Linked DNA regions of Homo sapiens: regions 2 and 3 are each linked to region 1. The links are contacts of gene promoters, found by promoter capture Hi-C in blood cells and fetal thymus (Javierre and others, 2016). All regions are on one chromosome and are shown on one strand. The core of a region is centred on a gene start or on the middle of the fragment in contact, and the rest is flanking DNA. Distances in the headings are between cores, read along the strand shown. Region 1 holds the start of ZNF219 (zinc finger protein 219). Region 2 overlaps KLHL33 (kelch like family member 33). Region 3 holds the start of SNORD126 (small nucleolar RNA, C/D box 126).

What was found. Contacts are between HindIII fragments. The CHiCAGO score rates a contact against its expected background, and 5 or more counts as called.
Region 2: a fragment that was not itself captured here is called in contact with the fragment with the promoter of ZNF219 in region 1 in 1 of 17 cell types (monocytes); the score reaches 6.3 in monocytes.
Region 3: a fragment that was not itself captured here is called in contact with the fragment with the promoter of ZNF219 in region 1 in 1 of 17 cell types (total B cells); the score reaches 5.4 in total B cells.

Annotation. Positions count from the first base shown.
Region 1 is chr14:21,096,526-21,100,861 of GRCh38, reverse strand. ZNF219 (zinc finger protein 219) reads left to right here and starts at 2,207. Exons shown (of 5, transcript NM_016423.3): 1 at 2,207-2,550. It also overlaps a transcript of TMEM253 not described here. RefSeq lists enhancers at 2,025-2,525, 3,285-3,786. The HindIII fragment of the contact is 7,101 bases long and covers 1-4,336 here.
Region 2 is chr14:20,427,594-20,431,864 of GRCh38, reverse strand. It overlaps KLHL33 (kelch like family member 33), which reads left to right. Exons shown (of 5, transcript NM_001365790.2): 3 at 1,146-2,070; 4 at 2,196-2,363; 5 at 2,464-4,271. The coding sequence ends at 3,016. Among named protein-coding and RNA genes, the nearest start is that of KLHL33, 6.4 kb to the left of the region's middle. RefSeq lists an enhancer at 2,239-2,871. The HindIII fragment of the contact is 607 bases long and covers 2,718-3,324 here.
Region 3 is chr14:20,323,966-20,328,178 of GRCh38, reverse strand. CCNB1IP1 (cyclin B1 interacting protein 1) reads left to right here. Exons shown (of 7, transcript NM_021178.5): 3 at 1,386-1,463; 4 at 2,526-2,640. SNORD126 (small nucleolar RNA, C/D box 126) reads left to right here and starts at 1,640; the gene lies at 1,640-1,738. The HindIII fragment of the contact is 275 bases long and covers 2,394-2,668 here.

The DNA of each region.
Region 1 (4,336 bases), core at 958-3,457:
CAATTCCCCCTCATTTCCATATGATCTTACTCCTTTCTTTGGCTTCCTCCTCAAATTATGTGCCCTTCCCTAGAGATCCTACTTTCTGTCTGGATTGGTCCCCTGTCATTACTACTTGCAGCTTTGCCCCCAGACCAGGTAAGGTTGAATTCCAGGGGCTTTCTTGCCTCTCACTTTCTGGACAGTCTCCCTTCCTTCTTTCTTGAAGGTTTTACTCTGAACTGAACACTGACTCAATGGATGGGGGGGACCCTGTTTATGGTGGGGATTGTTTTTGATTCAATGATAACCTGCAACTGGACATTATCTATCTATCTATCTATCTATCTCATGGTCCTCAAATAGTGAGTCTTGGGAAGGATGCTATTGCAACAATTAATATTTTTGAGAGAGAAGGTGCCTCATAGCCAGACAGACCTGAGCTGGAATCTTAGCTCTGCTGCTTCTCCATCTGTGTGATCTTGGATACATTATTATTATTATTATTATTATATTATTGAGACAGGGGCTCACTGTCACCCAGGCTGGAGTGCAGTGGCATGATCATGGCTCACTGTAGCCAACACCTTCTGGGCACAAATAATCATCCTGCCTCAGTCTCCCAAGTAGCTGGGATCACAGGCACATGCCACCATGCCTGGCTAATTTTTAAATTTTTTGTAGAGACAGGGTCGTCTCACAATGTTGCCTAAGCTGGTCTCAAACTCCTGGGCTCAAGCCATCCTCCCTGCTTGGCCTCCCAAACTGCTGGGATTACAGGTGTGGGCCACTGTGTCTGTCCTGATAGATATGTTTTTCTACCTATTCGCACCTCAGTTTATTCACTGATAAAAGGGGGCTAACAATATGACTGTGAAGAGTTGTTGATTCAGGGTGGGTGTTTAATAACTATTAGTGGTGCTGATGAGGTCACACCGATAAGTCTGATGCCCATACACTAAAAGTGTTATTCAGAAGGAAGCTGGGGACACATTTCTACAGTCGGAAGCAGAACCAGCTGGGCCCAAATATACTCTATAGATCAAAACAAATCCCAGATCTACCTAGGTGCCCTTGGCAAGTTGCTTAATCTCTCTGTTCCCTTATCTATAAAAGGAAGTTAATAATACCAGTCTCAAGGGGTTGCTTTCAGCATGGAAGAGAGCTTAGCCCAGTACCTGGTACACAAGTGCTCAATGTTAGTGGCTATGATCATCATCACTATTATTATTTCTTGTTGTTGACGATAAGAGGAGACTGCGCCAGAAGACTCTAGAAGTTAGTACGAGGAGGGAGGCAGGGTCCTGGGAGGCAAGTGATCTTTTGTAAGCCACTCCTGCCCCATCAGTGCTGTGCCAACATCGGCGGGTCATTGTATCTACTCTTTTCTTTCCCGGGGAGTGGGAGTCACGTTTTAAAGAGATCCAGAAAACTGCTGTGTGTCTACTCCTCCTCAATTCCCACGTGCATTGATTTTATTTGGTGGCGATGTGAGATGTTGGGCTTGCACTGAGGATCCCCGAGCCTGCAGGCCACTGGGGAAACAGACTTCCTGAAGCCTCATTTTTCTTACTTGTAAATGGGGGCTAATTTAATTATAGAGGGTTATTGGAAAGATTATATACTATTAGATAGGTGAACAGGCATTCAGTAAATATTGACTAAATCTGAGTATACTACTTACCAGTTTGTAGTCTAGACTACAATCGCCTGGAAGGAAGGTACCACTTCTTTCTCATCCCTCACAGCGCTGAGCCCAGTGCCTGGCACTTAGTAAGCACTCAGTAAATATTTGTTGTATTGAAGAGCCATTAAAGTGACTTGAGGAATGGAAAATAGAATTCGAGAGGAAGGCGCAGGAATTGTTTATCAAGAACGGAAAGGACCGAAGAGTAACTTTAATAATGTTTCTTATACGGCCGACATTAACTATCTCTATAATCGCCCCTCCTCCTCCCCCAAAAGAGAGACAGAAATTGTAAGGGAGAGGCTTTGAGATAAAACCCCAGGAAGAACTTCCCGAGTCTGTGCATGTTGGGGCAGAAAGAGCGGCAGAGCCAACTCCTTCCCTGGTATGTCCGGGTTTAGGGAGGGAGGGGCAGTGCTGCTTGGAGGCTGGGGGAAGGACGAGATGACCTTTCAAAATCTCTTCCAGTCTCCTGTTGGAATCCTCTGTGCGCCCCACCCCCGCTCCCTCCCTTCCTCCCTCCCTCCGACAGCGCCCCCCGTCTCCAAACCGCCCGCACCCCGCCCCTGGCGGCCGCCTCTCGCGGCTCCCGGGGTCCCCAGCTCCCTGTCCCCGGAGCCAGAGCCCGGCTCCCGCGCGGCTCCCAGCCCCGCCGCGCCGCCCCCCGCATGCTAATGGCCGGGCCGCCTCCCGCCGCACACAATGCGGGCCAGGGCCGGGGGCGGGGGACCGGGGAGGGGGCGGGGGCCGGGCCGGGGGCGGGGGGGCCGGGGCCCGGCGCATCTCCCCCGGCCCCACGTAACGCTGACGCCCGCGCCGCCGGCCCGCCGCCCGCCGCCGCCGCCGCCGCCGCCGCCCGCTCCGCCGCCGCCCGCCCGGGGCTCGTGAGTAGCCGCTCCCCCGACTCCCGGGCCCCCCCGTCCGCCACCCGGCCCCCGCCCCCGGCCCCCTCCCCCCTCCCGGAGGGGGGGCCCGCTCAGCGCGCCCGGCTCGGAGCAGGTGCAGGGGGCGGGGGCGGGGGAGGGGCGCCGGCTCGGCCCCAAGCAAACTTCGCCCAGAGCTCCTGGGGGGGCGGGGTGGGGGTGGCGGCCTCGGAAGCCTGGAGAGCTGGGGGGCCCCAAGGGAGGGGGGGCCAGGTGGAAGAGCTGGGGGAGCAGACACCAAAGGGAAGGGCCAACGGGGGGGATGTGGCGGGGGAGGTGGCGGGTGTCTTTGTAGGGGCCCGAAGGCAGGGCGCGAGGGACCTGGGGGTGAGGGGCGGCAGAGCCGCGAGCCTGAGTGGATGTGCACCCCCCAACCCCCGGCCCAGGTAGGGCTGGTGGGGGAGGGGGAAGGAGCCCAAACTCTCTGGAAGCACGGGGTGGCGGGGGAGGGGAAAGGATGGGGGGTGCTTCCCTCTTTGCGTCCCAAACAAAGTGTCACAAAGAGCTCGGCCCGCGGCAGCAGCGGAGGCGGCTGTAACTCAGCTTTTGTTCTCCTGGCCGGGGGTAGCTGAGCCTTGGCCTCCCTATCTCCCAACCCTGCCCCCCATCATCCTTCTGGCTTATCTTCCTGGGGAGGGGTCTGGGGTGCTGCTGGAAAAACCTCTCCGGCAGGATAGCAGGTCCTACCCTACTTAGCAATCTATTTCTGGGAGGGGGATTTTCCCAGAGGCTCCCTTGATCGCCCCTACCTCCCAGTCTGAGGACCGAGGCTCACGTGGGTGCTAAGACTGACTTTTCTAGGGTCAGCTCCACTTAAAGGGACTTAGGGCTGGCTACATGCCCCTCTTTCCCAAACCCAGGTCTTCCAGAACTTTCAAAATCAAAATCGGGGTTGCGTTAGGACATGCCTCTGGGATAAGATTCCCCATGGTGGGATGGCAGCAGGTGAGCAGGTGTGCCTTCCTCTCGCCTCCTGCTGTACCTTTGAAGTCCATGGCTGAGGTTCCATGTCCCTAACTCAGGAGAGTGAGGACAGAGGGAAGGAGGCTTTACCAAGATCTCAGTCTAAAAAGGCTGGTGAGCTGCAGAGTGGAGCGGGTTAGGAGGAGCTATCTGAGCAGTGAGGTTCAGAGGGCCATGGAGAGGAGACCATAAAAGTGAACTACTGGTGTGTCTGTGTGATCAAGGTAGTCTTTTGAACGTAGACCGCCCTAGAAGCTCCCTTTCCTTTTAACCCCATCTAGTGCAGTGGTAATCATAATTGTTAGCAGATTTGGGAGGTCTAGGATTCTCAAGAGGGAAAACCATCGTGTTAGAGGTGACCAGAGGCAGTTACAACTGGACCCCAGAAGTCCTGAACCCTTGCTCCTTACACTTTGACCCTAAAAACTTTTGAATCACAAGACTTGAGGGACAGTCTTTGTGGTCCATTTAGCAAATACTTCTATGTACCTGTCCTTGTTGTTTCTAAGTCTTTTCACCAACCATTCCATCCTTCTCTACTGAGTAAGGTTTAGTGGTCCACACCCACTTCCCTACCAGCTGCCCCAGCATGTAAGGATAATTGGCCTACTGCTTTTGAAAGGTTTCTGATATCTATCCCTGGCCCCGCATCCTTATAGAATCCAAATAAGGGCAAGATAACCCCTGATTCCCAGTGGGGGTGGAAAGTAGGTCAGTGCTGCTGTCTGGCCAAGTCTCGAGGATGGTGTTTAAGGCCTGACTATAGAAAACTCTGTGATTATTG
Region 2 (4,271 bases), core at 1,772-4,271, 670 kb after region 1:
ATGCTTATTGCAGCCTGACATCAGTGGCAGTGGATGGAGATGATCTGCCCACACAGCCACTGCATGGAAATGAAAAATAAATCACATGCTTTCTTTGGGACCCAACTCAGTTTCCACATTTTATTTATTTATTTATTTTGAGATGGAGTCTCGCTCTGTCACCCAGGCTGGGTGCAGCGGCGCAGTCTCAGCTCATTGCAACCCTCGCCTCCCAGGTTCAAGCTATTCTCCTGCCTCAGTCTCCAAGTAGCTGGGATTACAGGCGCCTGCCACCATGCCCGGCTAATGTTTGTATTTTTGGTAGAGATGGAGTTTCACCATGTTGGCCAGGCTGGCCTTGAACTCCTGACCTCAAGTGATCCTACCCACCTCAGCCTCCCAAAGTGCTGGGATTACAGGTGTGTGCCACGACACCCAACCAGTTTCCTTATTTTAAAGGGAATAATTGAATTAGATTATTTTGAAGTTCTCAAGTTTCAGATCTCATGATTCTACAAATTACACCAAGAACAGGAGAGGGTTATGCAGAGAAAAGCTGGGACGCACGGAAAACATTAAACACTAAATCTTAGGCAAGAGGAGACAGCAATCCGATGAGGTTGGATTACAGCCATTCCCGAGTGGTGCCACTTTCCCAGCAAAATCTAACAGAATGGCTGACAGTCTTGGCTCTTGATTGTAAAGAATTTTATTTTGTCACGATATAGACAGACCTATATAAGTTGCTTGTTGGTCATTTCCCATTTATTTTGTGCTCCTCTTAGCAAATGCTTTCCTCTCAACCTGATCCATGAAGACTCTTTTTCTGACTCATCTGACCAAAAAGACTAAAGCAATGTTTATCTAAGTGTCTTCAGGCCACTAACATGAGAATCACATAGGGTTACTTGAAGTGTTACAATACAAATTTCTAGGGTCTCCGTCCAGAACTGCTGAATCAGAATCTCTGGGAGTGGACTGCTGAAACCTGCATTTTAACAACTACCCCATGGTATTCTGATGCACACCACAGTTTGGTCTGTAGCAGTGGGTGGCTTGGAGGGCCAAACTTAGAGTTTGGCCAAACTTAGAGTACCAAGTTGGGGTAATGCCTATCGGTCTTGCAATACTTTGAGTCCTCCTCTATTCCTTCTCCCCTCCTGCAGTGCACCGAGCCGCCCTGGCCTGTGGCAGTGAGTTCTTTGGGGCCATGCTCCTGAGCGGGATGAGGGAATCCCAGGGCACAGAGGTATCTCTGCGGACGATCTCCACCCAGGACCTGCGACTCCTCGTCTCTTTTGCTTACTCCGGAGTTGTGCGGGCAAGGTGGCCAGGGCTACTGAGAGCTGCCCAGGCTGCTCTGCAGTACCAGAGCTCTTCCTGCTTGGATTTGTGTCAGAAAGGCTTGGCACGGGGCCTCAGCCCTGCCCGTTGCCTGGCCCTGTTCCCCATGGCGGAAGCCCCTGGGTTGGAGAGGCTCTGGAGCAAAGCCCGTCACTACCTCCTCACCCACCTGCCTGCTGTAGCCTTGTGTCCTGCTTTCCCTTCTTTACCAGCTGCCTGCTTGGCTGAGCTCCTGGATAGTGATGAGCTCCATGTGCAGGAGGAGTTTGAGGCCTTTGTGGCTGCACGGTGTTGGCTGGCTGCCAACCCCGAGACCCAGGAGTCAGAGGCCAAGGCCCTGCTGCGATGTGTCCGCTTTGGCCGCATGTCCACCAGGGAGTTGCGGAGGGTGCGGGCAGCCGGGCTACTTCCACCCCTGACCCCAGATCTGTTGCACCAGCTGATGGTAGAGGCTGATGTTCCAGGCCAAGAGAGACGGAGGGAGCCTGACCGGGCACTGGTAGTGATTGGCGGGGATGGGCTCAGACCAGACATGGCCCTAAGACAACCATCCCGAGCAGTGTGGTGGGCCCGGGCCTTCCGCTGTGGCGTGGGACTGGTACGAACTGTTGAGTGGGGGCAGCTGCCTGCCCTGCCTGCCCCCGGACGCTTCCGGCATGGGGCTGCAAGCCTGGCAGGAAGTGAACTCTATGTGTGTGGGGGACAAGATTTCTACAGTCACTCCAACACCCTGGCTTCAACTCTCAGGTATAAGCTTCTAGGAGTGGGCAGGGTGTGGCAGGCCCTAAGGTGGGCAGGGAGAGAAATTGCTGGCCTAGCCAACCACGGATGCCCAGAGTCCCTCTTCCAATCTCTTGTCCTACTGTGTCCAGGTGGGAGCCCAGTCAAGAGGACTGGGAGGAGATGGCTCCTTTGTCCCAGGCTCGAAGCCTTTTCTCCTTGGTGGCACTGGATGGAAAACTTTATGCCCTGGGTGGAAGACACAATGATGTTGCCCTGGACTCTGTGGAGACCTACAACCCTGAGCTCAATGTCTGGAGGTAAGCAGGCAAGGGGGCATCTGGGAGAGATTAGGAGACTTGGAATAGAAGGAGAGTTGAAGATGCTAGTTGCCTTATCTTGTGTCCTGTTCTCCCTTAGGCCAGCACCTGCACTTCCAGCACCATGTTTTGCCCACGCAGCTGCGATTTTGGAGGGCCAGTTGTACGTGAGCGGTGGCTGTGGTGGGACTGGCCAATACCTGGCCTCACTGATGCACTATGACCCCAAACTTGAGAAGCCAGGGACGTTTCTGAGCCCTATGGGGGTACCTCGGGCTGGCCATGTCATGGCTGCATTGGGTGGGAGGTTGTATGTGGCAGGTGGGCTGGGTGAGACTGAGGACCTGCTAAGCTTTGAGGCCTATGAACTAAGGACTGATAGCTGGACTCACCTGGCACCCCTACCCTCCCCCCATGTGGGGGCTGCAAGTGCTGTGCTGCAGGGGGAGCTACTGGTGCTCGGGGGCTACAGTCACCGTACTTATGCCCTCTCTCACCTTATCCATGCCTACTGTCCTGGCCTGGGCCGATGGCTCTGCCTGGGAACTCTGCCAAGGCCTCGGGCTGAGATGCCTGCCTGCATCCTGACACTGCCCGCTGTGCAGCACATAGCTTTGGTTCCCACCCCACACCAAACCAAACCTGCTGGGTGAAGAGGGAGCAACAGTGTATGGGGAGAGGAGGGCATAAGAAATAGCCTGAGAGAAGGACAGAGATTGTGGGGAGTGAAAAGAGGCTTTATTCTTGGTAGTATTTTATTCTCACACTGTGCATTGTAAACTGCTTTTGTACGTATGATCTCCGTTGAGGAAATGGTGGTTCCAGAACTCCTAGGGAAAACATATAGGGAAAGGGGAGGCAGCTGAATACCCAGGTGAGGAAAGGAGACTCGGGAGCAACTCCACAAGGCTTAGGGATTCTTAGGGAAAGGGCATCTAGTTTGAAAGAGAGTTAAGAAGCTTCAGTAGCCAAAGTGTAGAGACCATGGGAGGACAGTTGGAAAAATGGTTCTGACCCATGGATCATGGGAAAAATGTGGAATGGCCATCCATGAAAGAGTTTGAGGAGTGTAGGAGTAAGGACTGTAAATCGTTCAGCCCTTTTTTTCCTGGAACTTGCTCCTTTCTCCTCTCCCACCCCTGGGATGCCTAAACCTTCTTAACAATATTCTCTCCCGGGTAACTTTGTAGGCCTGGTCTAGCGTTTCCCAGCGAGACACCACAGGCTGCCCCTGAGAACCTCTTGGTTTCCTTCTGAGGCAGAAGCTCCCACATGGACATGCACGGCACAGGGGCCTGAGAGGCCTGACGGGCCCCCCAGGGCCATGTGGCAGGAGTGTTGTGTGGGAAAGATGATGGGGGCAGAGGCCAAGGAGGGAGAGGCCCACAGTGGAAAAACAGATGATCTGAGGTTTAAGGAGATGGGGTGGAAGAAGTCAGAAGCCTGTGTGCCTTCTTTCTTTTGGGCAAACTGAGGAATCAGGAGTGAAAATGAGACCGTTGTTGCCTGAGGTCTCAAGTGGTGAGAGGATGTGGGGGGAGAGAAGAGTGAGAAGCAGACAAGACTCAGAAAAGTCATTTCCCCCTTTCAGTTCCTTTCCCCCAGAGTTATTTTTAAATCCATTTCCCTTTATCTTGGCCAGGGAAGGTAGTCAGGTGCTTCCTCTTTCTCTCTTCCCCCATCCTGCTCTCCCCACTGCCTCTCTTTTTTCTTTCTCTTCTTTCTCCCTCACACAGTTATTAATTACCTACTGTGTGGCAGGCACTGTAGGAGGCACCAAGATACAGAGGTCAGAGAGCTCCTGACCAGCAGATAGACATAAACAAATACAAATTTTGAGTGGACTTACATGTATGGACGAGTCTTGCGAGAGCCCAGAGGATAGAGCAGTGAACTCTGCTCAGGAAG
Region 3 (4,213 bases), core at 1,282-3,781, 770 kb after region 1:
CTGAGCCTCAATTTTCCTGTAAATAGGGGGTTGTAAAATTTAAATGATACAAATTCTATACAGCTTGACAGATAGGATTTCTAAAGAATGATAGCCACTGCTTTCTTTTCTGTCAGCTTATTTTAGACCCATTCTTAAAGGCACTGATGTCCAATGGAGCCTTCTGTTATGATGGAAATGCTCTATGTTTGTACTGCCAATTTAGCTATTGAGTAATGAAAATGTGACTAGGGTAATGGGAGAAATTTAATTTTTAACTCTAATTAAGTGGTTACTTATTGGACATGCAACTTTAAGGTCCACTTGTGACCCACTCTTTTTGCTTCATGAAGCCTTCCTTGACCAATCCTACTTCTTTTCTTAACCTTACTTGCTTTCTACTACTTATTTGGTGGTATGTTAATTTCTGTGAGTCTTGTCTTTCTGGCTAGATTGTATCTGAGGTTATGGATTTTTAAATCTCCACACTGCTGCATGAAAAAGAACATAATGATGAAAGTATAACTGCAGTATTTTTAGCTAACAAGTTTTAGATGATCATTACAAGTAAATACAAAAAATTTTCTAGCTAGTAATTAGGTGAAGAGTAGGGAATAGTGTGAAGGTTGCCTGCAAAGATGAACTGCGTATCTAGTATGTATTTGACCTGAAAGTTCAGATGACACGCAAATGCTGGAAGAGGAAATTAAAGCAAGACTCTTTCTTACACTGCCATCTTGTGGCAGACTTGGGTTACAAATGTTACTAATTCAATTTTCCTATATAAAGGGAAGATTTTCTTCAGATTATTTTGACAAAGGATTACGAAGAGTAAAGGTTAAATACAATCCGGCATTGGCTCAAATGAAATTGAAACATGCTTTGAAAAAACTGACTATTTTGGATTATTTTCTCAGTTATCTGAATCTTAAAAGTTCTTGACTCCTTCCTCTTGCATAACTGTTTTCTTACTGTGAGGTTGTTGACCTTTATAGCCTTTCAGAAGTTGGTTAGACTATTGTGCAGTTTTATCCAAGCTTGTAAATTTATACAAAATTAAGCTTGTGTAGGGGTCCTGCTCGGTTTTTTTTTGTTGTTGTTGTTAAATTTTTTTTGTTTTGTTCGAGACGGGGTCTTACTCTGTTGCCTAGGCTGGAGTACAGTGGCACGATCACAGCTCACTGTAACCTTGAACTCCTGATCCTGCCCTATTTGATATTGAGCTTGGGCATTTGGTGACATTCTCCAAATAGATGAGTCAATAATTTATATTAATGAATGGAGAGTTAAATAAAGGATGAACGGTTACTCTAAATTTTCTTGTGACTTGGTATAGAACATGCTGGTGTGAGTTGTCATGTAATCATAACCTTTGTGAATTTATTTATGTTTTTTAAATTTTCCAGAAATGATCCTAGATAATTGATAGATCCTGTGGTTCAACTGGATTTCTAGATAGAAGCTGGATTCATGTGATGCCAGAGGTAAGAGTAAGAGCAAAATCTTCGTTTTTACCTCATTTGGATTTCTAATCACTTAGCAAGACTTGGGACTCGGTGTTATTAGTGGATGGAATTTGGTAATTAAAAAAAATCCCCAGTTCTAACCTTAGGAGAATTTTCCTGTTTAGGGATGAGGAGCCAGTGCTGGTTTGCCCTTCCTCAGTCATTTACAGTTTGCCATGATGAAATGCATGTTAAGTCCGTGTTTCAGCTGATCAGCCTGATTAAACACATGCTCTGAGCAGACTAAAGCTAGGGGCAAACACCTGCAATTGAATTCTGCTTGTTGGAATTCATACTGGGATTTAGTCTGTAATCCCAGGTAATTCTTAAATCTTAATAAATTATGAATTTGAGACTAATGTTTTGTTGTGCTTTGATCTTTTGTGATATCTCTATATCCCCAAAAAATCACTTTTGTGAGTTAGAACTAGGGTCAGGAATCATTAATCTAAAAGTTCAAACACTACAGAAAAAGCACTGGCAACTGGTATAATTCTATAGGCAATTTAGCCTGGCAGTTTTAAACTAATCATTATTTTATCAATCTATACATGTAGATTAAAGGAAACACAGAGTTGGTTAAATCAATTTTGTGAAGACTATACGGTACAACACTATAGAATCACTTAAAAGTTATGATACAGTTTTATGTTTATTGAAATAGAACGGTATTCATGACACATGAAAAACAGATTATATAGAGCAATATGTTTCTGCTTAAATATTTTTATATGCATATGTTTGCTTAAGAAAACTGAAAGGACATATATACTAAAATACTAGGGGGTTATTTTCTCTAGAATTGGGTTCTACAAGTAATCTTTTATTATTATAAACCTATTTTCTAATTTTATTGTATTCATGTATTGTAATATTTTAAAAGTTATTTTAGGTAACTTAGGACAAGCTTATATTCTTTACCCGTGCCTGCATTTTCAGCAGAGAATTAGGTAGAAAGAAGGGTGAAATACAGGAAATACAAACAACTCAAAGTAACATCAGGACTTGAAATAATTTTTTAGCTTTTGTTGTCTTTTGCAGGAGTAAAATTTCAAGAGACTGAAACCAGATCTGAGTTTCGCTGTTCCAGTCTGGACCTCTTTGGTGCTGTAAATCCTGGATATACTGTAGATGAGTACTGCGTTTTTCTTTTATGGTAAGGCTTACGTTGAGATTGAGAAGCTTTGCCATATATATGAGTCTTTGAAAATTCAGGTTTGTGACTTCATGGCCAGCTGCTAAGGTGCTATAAATTTCACTTTTTTTTTTTTTTTGAGACGGAGTCTTGCTCTGTCGCCCAGGCTGGAGTGCAGTGGCGGGATCTCGGCTCACTGCAAGCTCCGCCTCCCGGGTTCACGCCATTCTCCTGCCTCAGCCTCCCAAGTAGCTGGGACTACAGTTGCCCGCCACTACGCCCGGCTAATTTTTTGTATTTTTAGTAGAGACGGGGTTTCACCGTTTTAGCCGGGATGGTCTCGATCTCCTGACCTCGTGATCCGCCCGCCTCGGCCTCCCAAAGTGCTGGGATTACAGGCGTGAGCCACCGCGCCCGGCTAAATTTCACTTTTTAAAAGTCAGTTGAGGCCAGGCGTGGTGGCTCACACCTGTAATCCTAGCACTTTGGGAGGCCGAGGTGGGTGGATTGTCTGAGCTCAGGAGTTTGAGACCAGACTGGCCAACATGGCAAAACCCCATCTCTACTAAAAAAATACAAAAAATTATCTGGGCCTGGTGGTGTGCGCCTGTAGTCCCAGCTACTCAGGAGGCTGAGGCTTGAACCCAGGAGGTGGAAGTTTTAGTAAGCAGAGAGAGCGCAACTATACTCCAGCCTGGGTGATAGGGAGATTCCGTCTCCAAAAAAAAGAGTCAATTAAAGATGTTGAGAAGTAGCATTGTATAGTATATATATGGGTTCTGGAGTCAGACTGAGTTCAAACGCATGCTCTATCACTTCACCAGTTATGCAGCATTGGCAAGTTTCCTAATATCTATGTCTTAGTTTTATATTTTAGAGGATGGCAATAGTATTTGACTCAGGGTGGTTATTTTGAAGATTAAATTAGTAAGGGTGTGGGTAAAGCATACGGTAAATGCTCAGTTTGATGTTAACTATTTGTCATCAGAATCCATGCGTATATTTCTCTTAGATTCTGTACTACCTGGCAATTTTTGACATCTGCATAATAGATTGACGAAAATTCTTTGTTTTGGCCTGACGTGGTGGCTCATGCCTGTAAACCCAGCACTTTGGGAGGCGAGGTGGGCAGATCACCTAAGGTCAGGAGTTCAAGACCAGCCTGGCTAACATGGTGAAACCTCGTTTCTACCAAAAATACAAAAATTAGCTGGGTGTGGTGGCGTGCACCTGTAATCCCAGCTACTTGGGAGGCTGAGGCAGGAGAATCGCTTGAATCTGGGAGGCAGAGGTTGTGGTGAGCTGAGATCGCACCACTGCACTCCAGCTTGGGTGACAGAGCTAGACTTCGTCTCAGAAAAAAAGAGGAAATTCTTTGTTTTTATTGCTCATATATCTTTCTGTTAATTAGACTACCCCTCATTACCTTCACCCCGCCCCTCAAAACTTAATTAAGTTCTAGAATTAGTCATAGGCACTATAATGTGTATCTTTATATAATTGTTGGAATAACATTTTCTTTAGTTGGTTAATCTTGATTTTGGTACTAACTTGTTATCTAGTTCCTCATTTTCCCTTGCTGGATCAGTTGATC